4 separate regions of the Homo sapiens genome follow, and regions 2, 3 and 4 are each linked to region 1. Evidence: promoter capture Hi-C in 16 types of primary human blood cells and fetal thymus (Javierre and others, 2016). All regions are on one chromosome and are shown on one strand. Each heading gives the region's core, a stretch centred on a gene start or on the middle of the fragment in contact. The rest is flanking DNA. Distances are from core to core; before and after follow the strand shown. Region 1 holds the start of SMAD1 (SMAD family member 1). Region 2 has its middle 37 kb from the start of OTUD4. Region 3 overlaps LOC105377465 (a long non-coding RNA gene). Region 4 overlaps OTUD4 (OTU deubiquitinase 4).

Evidence for each region. The method cuts DNA at HindIII sites, captures the fragments that hold promoters and counts their contacts. A CHiCAGO score of 5 or more calls a contact.
Region 2: a contact is called between a fragment that was not itself captured here and the fragment with the promoter of SMAD1 in region 1, in 1 of 17 cell types (endothelial precursors). The highest score is 7.8, in endothelial precursors.
Region 3: a fragment that was not itself captured here is called in contact with the fragment with the promoter of SMAD1 in region 1 in 1 of 17 cell types (erythroblasts); the score reaches 6.0 in erythroblasts.
Region 4: a contact is called between a fragment that was not itself captured here and the fragment with the promoter of SMAD1 in region 1, in 1 of 17 cell types (erythroblasts). The highest score is 5.1, in erythroblasts.

Annotation. Positions count from the first base shown.
Region 1 is chr4:145,480,201-145,483,315 of GRCh38, forward strand. SMAD1 (SMAD family member 1) reads left to right here and starts at 1,653. Exons shown (of 7, transcript NM_005900.3): 1 at 1,653-1,838. RefSeq lists silencers at 1,422-1,551, 1,722-1,881, 2,222-2,281, 2,372-2,471. The HindIII fragment of the contact is 17,310 bases long and covers 1-3,115 here.
Region 2 is chr4:145,216,151-145,219,204 of GRCh38, forward strand. No RefSeq gene overlaps it. Among named protein-coding and RNA genes, the nearest start is that of OTUD4, 37 kb to the left of the region's middle. RefSeq lists an enhancer at 2,363-2,452. The HindIII fragment of the contact is 1,269 bases long and covers 1,028-2,296 here.
Region 3 is chr4:145,198,840-145,201,738 of GRCh38, forward strand. LOC105377465 (a long non-coding RNA gene) reads right to left here. Exons shown (of 3, transcript XR_939276.1): 2 at 2,644-2,786. Among named protein-coding and RNA genes, the nearest start is that of OTUD4, 20 kb to the left of the region's middle. The HindIII fragment of the contact is 2,661 bases long and covers 295-2,899 here.
Region 4 is chr4:145,164,282-145,166,981 of GRCh38, forward strand. OTUD4 (OTU deubiquitinase 4) reads right to left here. Exons shown (of 21, transcript NM_001366057.1): 4 at 870-916. Among named protein-coding and RNA genes, the nearest start is that of OTUD4, 15 kb to the right of the region's middle. The HindIII fragment of the contact is 5,397 bases long and covers 1-2,700 here.

The sequences.
Region 1 (3,115 bases), core at 403-2,902:
CATTTTTGATTTTTTTAAAAATTAACGACTTTAAAATGACAGTTTATAGCTCCTCCTCCCCATTCAGGATCCAATCAAGGTCATATACTGCATTTCATTGTCATGCTTTTTTTTTAATAGCTTGAGGTAAAATTCACATACCAAATGATTGACCCATTTAAAGTGTGCAATTTAATGGCTTTTGGTATATGCACAGAGTTGTGCAACCATCACCAGAAACTAGTTTTAGAACAATTTTGTCACCCCATAACCTTTAGCTGTCACTCCCCAGGTTCCTCATTTCCCCAACCCTATGCAAACCACCAATCTACTTTCTGTCTCCATAGCCTTGCCTACTCTGAGCATTTCACATATGTGGAAGAATACAATGTGTGGTCTGTCTTCTTTCCCTTCACGTTTTGAAAGGTTATCCATGTAGCATGCATCAGTATCAGTACTTCATTCCTTTTTATGGCTGAATAATGTTCTCTTGTATGGGATACTTTATACTATTTATCAAGGGAGGGTTTTCAACAGAGGAGTGGCCTGATCCGAGTGGCATTTAACAAGGTTCACTTTCCTGTTGTTCTAAGGAGCAGAGAATGATCAACTGCGTCAAACGCTGCTTTTAGGGAAAATAAGATGAGGCCCACGAATTGACCAGTAAGTGCTCAAATAGGTTAAGGGAAAAAGGAATTTAATTAGAAGACATATTCTGATATACATTGCTGGGAGTGATTTTTTTTTTTTTTTTTTTGCTTCATGTGAAATTTATTCCTCAAAAAAAAATCATTTTTTCTAAACGTAACTCAACATTATAGTAATTATGCAAGATTTTATGCAGCTTCAAGAGTTAGCCAAGAGAAAAGTTGACTCTTGCAAGAAGATATTTTCAATGTCTATGCAGATCAGGTAGGTAAGAGTTAAGTGCGGGGGAGTTGGCATCATCTAAAAGACTGTAGAAATTGGACCAAAAATGTGGAGTTCTAAAGCAGTATCTCCTTATGGCATGCCATTATTTGGAGCAACAAGGTTACCTACTCGAATCACTGGATCCTGAGTTGACACAAAACGCATCTGTTGACTCAGGGTTTGTATAACCACGTGCAGTATTTACTAGGCTATCCAATTCTGGGTACGTACAACTTCTGGGGCCTGCAAATTATTGGAGAGTGAGTGAGGGGCAACGAAAGATAGACATAAAAGGGCGCGTCTCGAAAGGTAACTGTCAACATGCACTCCACGTTTATAGAACGATTCAGTGGGCGCGGTGGAAGCGTTAATGAACATTTCAGAAAATAAACATATGGAACATCGAAATTCACTTGCAGATAATGGACTAAGTCCGCTCCACCGGGACTAAAAAGGCAGGGTTAGGAAAGCCTGAACGCCGCCACACTGTTTTTTCTCCAGGAAGAAACGGGGCGTGGGGCTGCCGGTAGAAGGGGGTGGCTCCGGCCGCTCCCCCGCGCCGTCCTCCGGCCCCGGCCGCGCTGCGCTCACGCCGGCCGGGCCGGGAATTTGGAGAGGATCCCTGGTCGCGCGGCAGCGGCGGCGGCGCGCGGGTGAGCGGGTGAGCGTGTGAGCGGGCGGGCGGGCAGGCGAGTGCGCCGGGTATTGGCAGCTGAGGAGTGGAGGCTGGGCAGCTCCGACTCCCTGACGCCAGCGCGACCAGATCAATCCAGGCTCCAGGAGAAAGCAGGCGGGCGGGCGGAGAAAGGAGAGGCCGAGCGGCTCAACCCGGGCCGAGGCTCGGGGAGCGGAGAGTGGCGCAGCGCCCGGCCGTCCGGACCCGGGCCGCGAGACCCCGCTCGCCCGGCCACTCGTGCTCCCACACGGACGGGCGCGCCGCCAACCCGGTAAAACGAAACAGACCCGAACCGAACTTTCCCTTCATGCCGCGTCCCAGCCCTCCCCTCGGCGCCCCGGGCTTTCCAGCGCCGCCGCCGCCGTCTCTGCACGCGTGGGGCCGCCGCGGTCGTGCTGGGCTGGGGGCGCGGGCAGCGGCGGGAAGGGGGCTCTTTCTGCGCGGGGCGGGCCGCGACCCCCCCCCCCCATGATGGCGCCTCCCGTCTGCTCGGAGGAGCGAACCTGCTACCACGTCTTCTCGCGCCCAGCCCGCCGGGCTCCCCTGGTGTCTTTGTTGGGTCTTCTGCTGTGGGAAGCCCAGTTCCCGGGCCCCCGAGCCTCGGCTCCCGGGCCTGACCGCGCTGGGATCTCCCCGGCCGCGCTCCCCTTCCGCGCGCTCCTCACATCTCTCCCGTGCTGCCGCCGGGCCGAGGCCCGTTCGCGTGGCCCGCGGACCCATTGTGTCCCCCGCGCCGGCGGGGCGACCCCTGCGGGAGCTGGAGGACGACCGCTGGCGCTGCTCTCCAAGGCGCCTGGTGGAGCGGGTCTCGCGGGCGGGGGACCCCGGCGCCCCGGGCCCCTCCACATCCCGCACGGGTTTTCTTCTCGGCCCCAGCAAGCCTCTTTGGGGTCGAGGTCAAGGAAAGTTCGCACCGAGATCCCCTCTAATTTATTCAAAGGTTTGGCGGCGGCGCGTAATTTTTTCCCCCTCTTCCGCCTACACCCGCTGCGTCTCCTGGTGTCTCGTTCCTTTCCCTTTACCGGAGTCGATTGCCTCACTGCATGTGTATTCGTGAGTTCGCGGTTGAACAACTGTTCCTTTACTCTGCTCCCTGTCTTTGTTAGTGTTTCTCGGGGTTGTTTCTGTAGGAAGGTGGGGGTGGTGGGCGTGAGAGACAGATGTGGGCTTGTTTTTCTAGTTGCTGAAACTGTATGAAGGCTTTAAAGGGAGAACGTTTTCTTGATGTGCTTTAGGAGGGGAGGAGGAACAAATGCCTGCCAGATCTCACAGCTACAGTAGCTGAGCTTTTGTTTATTTTGAAGAGCATGCAATTTTTAAATACACGGTGCAAGATAACCAGTAAAGGCGCGTTCCTTCTGAAAATTGAGGCCGGTCTCAGAACCATCTCCTGAGAAAGCATCCTTTTCGTGAGTGCTGAGACAACTGTCCTTTTTCTCTGCCCTCCCCCCTCTTTTCTTTCCATTGTATCTGAAGTTTCAAAGTACGTGGAATGATACAGAAGTTGCATGATTTCTGTTATTTCTTCCTGTTGCTGAAACTCTCAGC
Region 2 (3,054 bases), core at 412-2,911, 260 kb before region 1:
CTTTCTCTTCTCCCCACGACCACAGGCAACACCCTTCTACTTTCTGTCTGTATGAATTTAACTACTCTAGGTACCTCATATGGGTGGAATCACATCTCTCCTTTTGTGATGGGTTTATTTAATTAATTGCCTTCAAGGTTTATCCACGTTATGGCATCTGTCAGAATTTCCTTCCTTTTTAGGGTTGAATAATATTTCATTGTATGTATATAGCACATTTTGTTTTTCCATTCATCTTTCAATGGAGACTGGGGTTGCTTTCACCTTTTGGCTATTCAGCATTGAATTTTAAAAAGACTCTACCCTAGTTTTAATTGTATTTATTTGATTTATTGTAATACTGAACACATACACACACAAACACACAGATTTTGCCCCTGAGTAGCTATTTGTATTTTAAAATTGATTATGCTAAATTTGTCACTCACTTTAGTAGGTATTGTCTGTAAGCAACATAGGAATGTATTAAGCTAAGAACATATCATTTATGTTTATATCCAGGGAGAAAAGTTTTAATATCTTGTCATATATCCTTTTTTTGTTTTGTTTTGTTTTTGCAATTAGCTACAGTTGCCTTTAGGTGGCATTAGATCCTTGGGCATGTGTTACAGAGATTTTTGCTTATTGGATGTGTGTATGTATGTTTTGACAGCTTGATGGATTTAAAAGCTGATCCAAATGTTATTTGAGGTCTAGAATGAAATATAAATTAATATAGAAGCTAGGCATCCTGAGACCTCTTTCATTATGCAACTACATGTTGACTAAATGATGTCTTCCTTTTTTTTTCTACAACAAATATTCTCCAGTTCTTTGCCTTGGATTAGATACTTTTAGAACAAAAATCTTAAAAATGTTCTGAAGTTCAATGTGAGGTTCTAAGCAAAATGGAGACTATTGTTTGGCCCAAATTTTGTAAAAGTTTGGATTGAAAGGGAGTTCTTTCATGTATGTAAGAAATCCCTTATACCTATTTTTCTGAATCAACACTTCAGACATCAGCATTTACCATGGTTGGCATAATGGAAGCTTAAGCCAAATATTTAGCAATAAAGGATGTGGAGAAATTGCCATCTGTATGGATTCCGGTATTTGGAATCATACATATTATCATTCATATTATCACTTTTTTGCTACTTCATTCAGAATTCATGTTTCTGAAAGACACTATTAAAAAAATTCTCAAGGCACTTTGGTTCCTTTAAAAGATGCCTTCCTTTCAGGAAAAGAGAGTCAGATTTTAGCACATTTTACTTGGTTGTCATGGGTTTGACTGGGGCTTGGGGGGTCAAGGGATTTGCCTGGGGTCTCAGGTTGGTGACTTTGTGGCTAGCCTCCTCTACACTGTGTTGGAATCAGCTGGCTCCAAGATCCTTGTTCTGTCTTCCCACTAGACCACATTGTCTTCCAAATGAAACCACAGTAGTGCTGAAAGCAGGAAGGAAACTCTTCAACTCACTTGTTTTATAAAAACTTCTTTTAAGGCAAGGACAGGGAACAGTAAGAATAGCCTTATTCACAGGCGAGTGACTTGAGCCATCTCTGCCTTTTGAATGTTAGCTTTTTCTTTAATAAATTACTCCTGAAAATACTGTTTGTAAAGATCAATGAAATACTTCCTATATATGTTAGTGATAGTTTTTCTTTTCAAGAAAACGTGTTGTTATCATGTCTAGGGTAGAGAGCTAACGAACTTTGAAAACCCATTATGTGGCAGGTGACTTACACTTGTTATCTCAAATAATATTCACAGTAACCCACAATAACATTGCAAATAAGCACGACTAATTCCATTTTATTGGAACAGAACTGGAAGTTCAGAGAGAGTTTTCTTCAAAAAGAAAAACTTGTTTAAATTCCCACAACTAGTAAATGAGAGAATCAAGATGATGGTCCATTCCTATTGAATGCATGTGGAAATAGGAAGAATTTTTTTAAGTTTGAGACATATTTCTTTGCCTATCCCAGATTGACATCTTTTGAATCCATATAAAATTTCACAACTTTTCTTAATAGTCTCAGATTACAATTAATGAATTTTAGATGCAGTTCACAAATTTTTTCTTTTCTATAGTTATATCTTAACCATAATCAGCAGCATCTTATAATTTTTCACTGAATTTGTAATTAGTCTATGTAGGGGGTCGAGGGATATGGGGCTGATCAAGGAACAGGATGTCCACAAGAGAGGCAGTGACAAGTTTGTTGGTGCTTGGCCAGGGTTGCATGAGAGGAGAAGTCCCTCACAGCCTTACTGGTGAGGGAGGAGGACAAGGGAGAGAGAGATTGGAGAGGAAGCTTACATAGAGTCTCTGGGTCAGAGAGCCCAGCTTGGCTTGAGGCCTTATAACTACACGGCCCTGTCTTATGAATAGGTAACAGCTGCTGGGTGAGATTTTGCGGGGTATGCAAAGCAGACAGGCTCTAAGCAGCTAAACTTTTCTTGGTCAGGCTATTTTTAAAATAACTGGATGTGTAAAAATTTAAGTTTGGTGTCAGTGGGCTTTTGAGCTAATGGGTCTCAGCCTGCAGTGGAGAAACAACCAACTTTGAGGCTAATATACAGAGGCTATCTTTGGCTGATTTATGTAACAGTCTATCCCAAGGCACTAGAAGTATTTAACTGTTTTGGGAAAAGATAATAGCTTTTGATCATAGAAAGTATGTGATTCAACTAAACTAATAGTTTATTAGTTCAATGATATTACTCTCTGTGGTTTTATTTACCTATACTTGTATACAGAACAAATACTATTTATAATAAAGGGAAGTAAGTACCCCACCTTCAAATATAATTTTATTCCAGTGTTTAGTATATATGCTGCTGAAATGAGCACAATTTTATTCCAAAGAATTGAATAACATATTCAAATATTTCTGCCTCCAGCTACAGCCACTTAAGGATTCATGGTTTGATAGCAGTAACATGTTTAACATATTTTTATCCATATATGTTTGAATTACATAAACAATGTTTCATCAATATGAAAAGTATAATAAAACCTTAAACTCCTTTTCCATTTTGTAGGTATATATATATGTTTGTCTTTGGTT
Region 3 (2,899 bases), core at 375-2,874, 280 kb before region 1:
ATGAGCCACTGCACCTGGCCTCTTTTAATTTTTAAGTAGTCTCCTTTCACCTGCAGAATTTGCAGAGCCTTTTGAGACACTATATCCCCTCCTCCTTCTCTGGCTAAGTTGTGTTTAAGTAGAGCAGCATAAGGCTGATGGATGGTATTTTTTCAAGATGAGTATTTAAGAAAATTCCATAAATAATCTGTGTCAATTACTAGTTTATTGCTTCTTAGCTCCAAATCCACACTTCATTGCCTGCACCATAATAATGAAGCTAGACTTTCTCCTTTGCCAGTTGCCATGATGTTAAGCTTTGTCAGTAGAGGGTGTTGGGGGGATGCTGGCTGGAGAAGAAAAGAGTTTCTCTCTCCCTGGTTGCAGTGTGCTCTTCTTGTCAGGCTCCTGCAGTACTCAGCCACACCCAGTTGCACCCAGTGATTATTAGCATATGGCACCTCCCTATGAACAGCTTTTCATGGGACCTCTTTGGTGACTTGACAGTGGAGTGCTGGCGACAAGTTATTTCTCCATGAACAGCTTCCCCCAGCACTTCATTAGGTGGATTTCCAGCAAGTTTCATTAGTATGGCACCTCCGCAAACTTCTCTGCCATCCACTGAGCTAAGTCCTTGCTGTTTCTATGAGGTCTGGATGTCAGCCCGGAATGGGCTTCCTTATCTCGGTTCTGTGGGTAGTGGCTGCTCCCTAAATCTGCTATCCGTGATATGAACCCAAAAGTACCTGACAGATCTTAATCAATTTAGAAAGTTTATTTTGCCAAGGTTAAGGACACGCCCATGACACAGCCACAGCAGGTCCTGACAACATGTGCCCAAGGTAGTCAGGGTACAGATTGATTTTATACATTTTAGGGAGGCATGAGGCATCAATCAATACATATAAGATGTACATTGGTTCGGTCTGGAAAGATGGGACAACTCAAAGCAAGGGGCTTCTAGGACACTGGTAGGTGAGAGACAAAGGGTTACATTCTTTTTGAGTCCTTGATCAGCTTTTTACTGAGTACACAATTTAGTCTGGCTCAGTGAATCCACATTTTTACATGAATATTAGGGCAGAGGAAGCCATCAGATATGCATTTCTCTCAGGTGAGCAGAGGGATGAGCTTCTGCTCACATCTGTGAAGATAAGCGATCAGGATGAACTTCAACAGAACTGTTTTAGGGTAAAGATCTTGAGGCCCACAAGGAATTTCCTTGTGGGCAAATTGTGAGGGAGGTATGTAGCTTTGTAGGTATTTTATTTAGAAATAAAATGGGAGGCAGGTTTGTCTGACCTAGTTCCCAGCTTGACTTTTCCCTTGGCTTAGTAATTTCCTAGCCTTGTGGAAAAAGTCAGTCTAAGAAAATGAAGTTGACATATAGAGAAAAGCAACAGTAGGAGGAAAATGAAAAAAAAAATGTTGGCGTTAGAGCGCCTGGTTTTAGTATTATCACAGGCACAAATGTGCCCTGGCCCTTACCACGGTTTAGTTACTTGTACCAACTAATTTATTTTTCCCCCTAAGCTACTTTGTGTTAGGTTTCTATCACTTATAATTGAGTATCCTAAAATGTTAACTTTCCTGAGGACCCTTGACCGCATTCTCACTTCCACTCTTTATTCCTTCAGCATATTTTATATGTACTAACCATTTGCTACTTTACACTGTGCTTCTTCCCTAACCGCCCATATGGCACAATTTTACATTTTTAGCTAACGGTATCTAAGGCCATATTTTGCATATATACATTTTGTTATTGCCAATTAGATGGCAATTGGCACATCTGTTACAGTGCCATGCATGTTGTTTGCTATTTAGTTGATGAATGGAAATTCCATAGCGTTACAAATGTGGTTATTTCCCTTTAGGGGTCTTATTTAAATATGTACTACAGGACAGCCCTCCCTCAGTATCCATGGGGTGGGGTGGGGGAGTGTGAAAGGGGGAATTGGTTCCAAGATCGCTGCAGATACCAAAATCCATGCTGTTCAAGTCCCTTGTATGAAATGGTGTCATATTTGCGTACAACCTATGCGTATCCTCTGGTATACTTGGTCATCTCTAGATTACTTATAATACCTAATACAATGTAAATGCCATGTAAATATTTGTTGTGTTTTTTTATTTGTATTTTTTTATCGGTGTATTGCTATTTAAAATGGTTTTTTGCACATATTTTCAACCCACGGTTGGTTGAATCTGCAGATGCAGAACCTGCGGATATACAGGGGGCCAACTGTATATGGTGCCTAAGGAATATTCAGATAGCATACTGTAATAGCAATAGCCTCTATTTGTTAACACTCCATTTTATTTAAGGAACTATGTTTTTCATATATTATCTTGTTTAATTGTCACTCTAGGAAGTTTTGTTATTTGTTTTAAATATGAAAATACTAAAATTACAATAACTTGACAAAACTTGAACCAAGGCTTCACTGACTCCTAAGTTCATCTACTATGCTATACTGCTTCACCCATAGTGTAGATACATTATATTTTGAAAGGAAAACCCCTGAAGGTGTATTGTATATAGTTCAACCTTTGCCTATAAAAGTTGGTTTAGGAAGAATAATTAGGTAGAGCCCAGGGTACAAAAATATTATTACTAAACATTGAACACTGTTCGACTTTTTAAAAAAGTACTGAATCTACCCAAGACAAGGATCCTCTTCATCTGCCTGTTTGATGGTGTGCACACAACGAAATGAGGGCAGTATTAGCAATGTGATTCTATTGGTCTTATTTGCCTTTGATGCTGTTCTATATTGCAGTGAAGAGAAGCTCCAGTCATAGTCCTGAAATAAAACCAGTGACTATTTAAAGCTAGTTTTATTTTTCTGAGAAAAATATAAAATAAAACATATATACAAGTAGCCTTGTCTTAATATCCTCTGACCAAATTGCCTTC
Region 4 (2,700 bases), core at 22-2,521, 320 kb before region 1:
TTAATCATTCATTCATTCATCAAGGGCCTAATACGTGCCAGGCACTGTCCCAACCACTGGAGATACAAAAGACAATAATGAGATAACTAAGTTGTAAAATATCTATATAAAAGTAACCTTTTTAACATGTAAAATTTCAAATATTATTTGTATATATATTAAATTTCAGATATAATTCTAAAGGGACACTTCAAAAATCAAAGAAATTTTGAAGATGAAATTTAAACAACATTCTGAAAAGAAAAAACAAAGTATTTACCTGCTCCTCTACTAGGCAAAAGTAGCAAAATTGAATACAGGTTGAGCATCCCAAATCTAAAAAGCCAAAATCCCAAATGTTCCAAAATCTAAAACTTTTTGAGCACCAACATGACACTCAAAGGAAATGCTCATTGGAGCATTTTGGATTTCAGATTTTCAAATTAGGGATGCTCAACTGGGTAAGCATAATGTAAATATTCCAAAATTTAAAAAAAAAATGAAATCCAAAAACTTCTGGACTCAATCATTTCAGATAAGGAATACCCAATTTGTAACATGGTATTTTAGTACGGTTCTAGTGGCCATTCAATACCACTGACCCTGAGAAAGTAGAAAATCATTTCTCTACAAAGTTGATAAGTGATATCTTACAGAACATAGACCGGAAAAATTTCTGTACCCTTTTCCAAAGTATTTTGAGAATTAAAATTTCTAAACACTGACATATCTAAATGTCAAAATCTAATTGATGCAATTAAAAAAAACTTAGAAAAGATACTTCATAACTAAAGTATAAAAGAGCTTTGCTATTTTAACATTTTTAATATAATGGAATATAATTTCCCACTGGTTTCATTTTCTTTTACTTATGTTATTACAGTGTTTACCTGTACATAAGAGAAAGGGCACTTATTTCCACTTGTCCTACCCATTCCTGTATTGAAGAAAAAAAGGTGGCATGTAAGTGTCTCACACTTTTTAGATTCCACTTTATATTTCTATACATACCTTCATACAGCATACGTAATGAGTTCTTAAAGCTCATTATTATTAGTAGTATTGTGAATATTATAAAAACGTTTATATAAAACAGACCACAATATGTGGTAAAATGCAGTCCAAGTCTCTCCCACACATACACAAAAAAATACTAACAGGGTGAAATGACAGTTCCTATTGGTGTGGCAAGACCACAGCATGGCATCTGTTAAGTTGAGACTTTTTTTTTTTTGAGATGGAGTTTCGCTCTTGTTGCTCAGGCTGGAGTGCAGCGGCGTGATCTCGGCTCACCGCAACCTCTGCCTCCGAGGTTCAAGCGATTCTCCCGCCTCAGCCTCCCAAGTAGCTGGGATTACAGGCATGTGCCACCATGCCCAGCTAATTTTGTATTTTTAGTAGAGACGGGGTTTCTCTATGTTGGTCAGGCTGGTCTCAACTACTGACCTCAGGTGATCCACCCGCCTCAGTCTCCCAAAGTGCTGGGATTACAAGCGTGAGCCACTGCGCCTGGCCCAAGTTGAGAACGTATTGAAGGCAAGGGCTATCCTCCAGCCTAGCCCTCAGGAGAGCGCCTGGCACATGGTATAAGCTCGGGAAATGAAATACTGAATAGAGGCGGCTGGGCGCAGTGGCTCATGCCTGTAATCCCAATACTTTGGCAGGCCAAGGAGGGCGGATCACCTGAGGTCGGGAGTTCGAGACCAGTCTGACCAACATGGAGAAACCCCCTCTCTACTAAAAATACAAACTTAGCCGGGTGTGGTGGCCCATGCCTATAGTCCTAGCTACTCAAGAGGCTGAGGCAGGAGAATCGCTTGAACCCAGGAAGCAGAGGTTGCAGTGAGCCAAGATTGCACCATTGCACTCCAGCCTGGGCAACAAGAGCAAAACTCGGTCTCAAAAAAAAAAAAAGAAAGAAAGAAATATTGAATAGAAGCAGAAAATTGGGAAGTATAGAAAAGGGCAGAAGATCTCTTCTCTTCAGGGTAAATGAAGGTACAAAAGAGAGCAGTGTCCTAGCAATTGTTTTGAAAACAAGAGAAATTCTACACTCCTTAGAAAAGTCACTTAAAGCCTTTCTGAAAGGCAAATGGCCAGTATGTTTCAAAATTTAAAATGTCCCATATACCCTGTGACCCAGCAATTCAACTTCTATACGTCTATCATAAAGAAATATTTCACATCTACAAAAGTGTATGTAAAATAATGATGTCACTGGGAGTTATTTGTAACAGTGTTTAAAAAAAAAAAAAAGTCCCTAAGATTCCTACAGAATAGTAAAATAATTCATGTTTCAGGCAGGATGTGGTGGCTCACGCCTGTAATCCCAACACTTTGGGAGGCCGAGACAGGCAGATCACGAGGTTGGGAGTTCAAGACCAGCCTGACCAACACAGTGAAACCCCATCTCTACTAAAAATACAAAACATTAGTCGGGCCTGGTGGCACATGCCTATAATCCCAGCTACTCGGGGGCTGAGGGAGGAGAACCACTTGAAGCTGGGAGGCAGCAGTCGAGTAAGCCGAGATCGCGCTGCTGCACTCCAGCCTGGGAGACAAGAGCGAAACTATGTCTCATAAAAAATAATTCATGTTTCAGCCACACTATAGAATATCATGCATTCATTCAAAAGAATGAGGTATAACCACATGAAATGACCTAGAAAAATCACTCAAGATTAAGTTTTAAAAGTAAATCATGGGAAAATAATACTATTT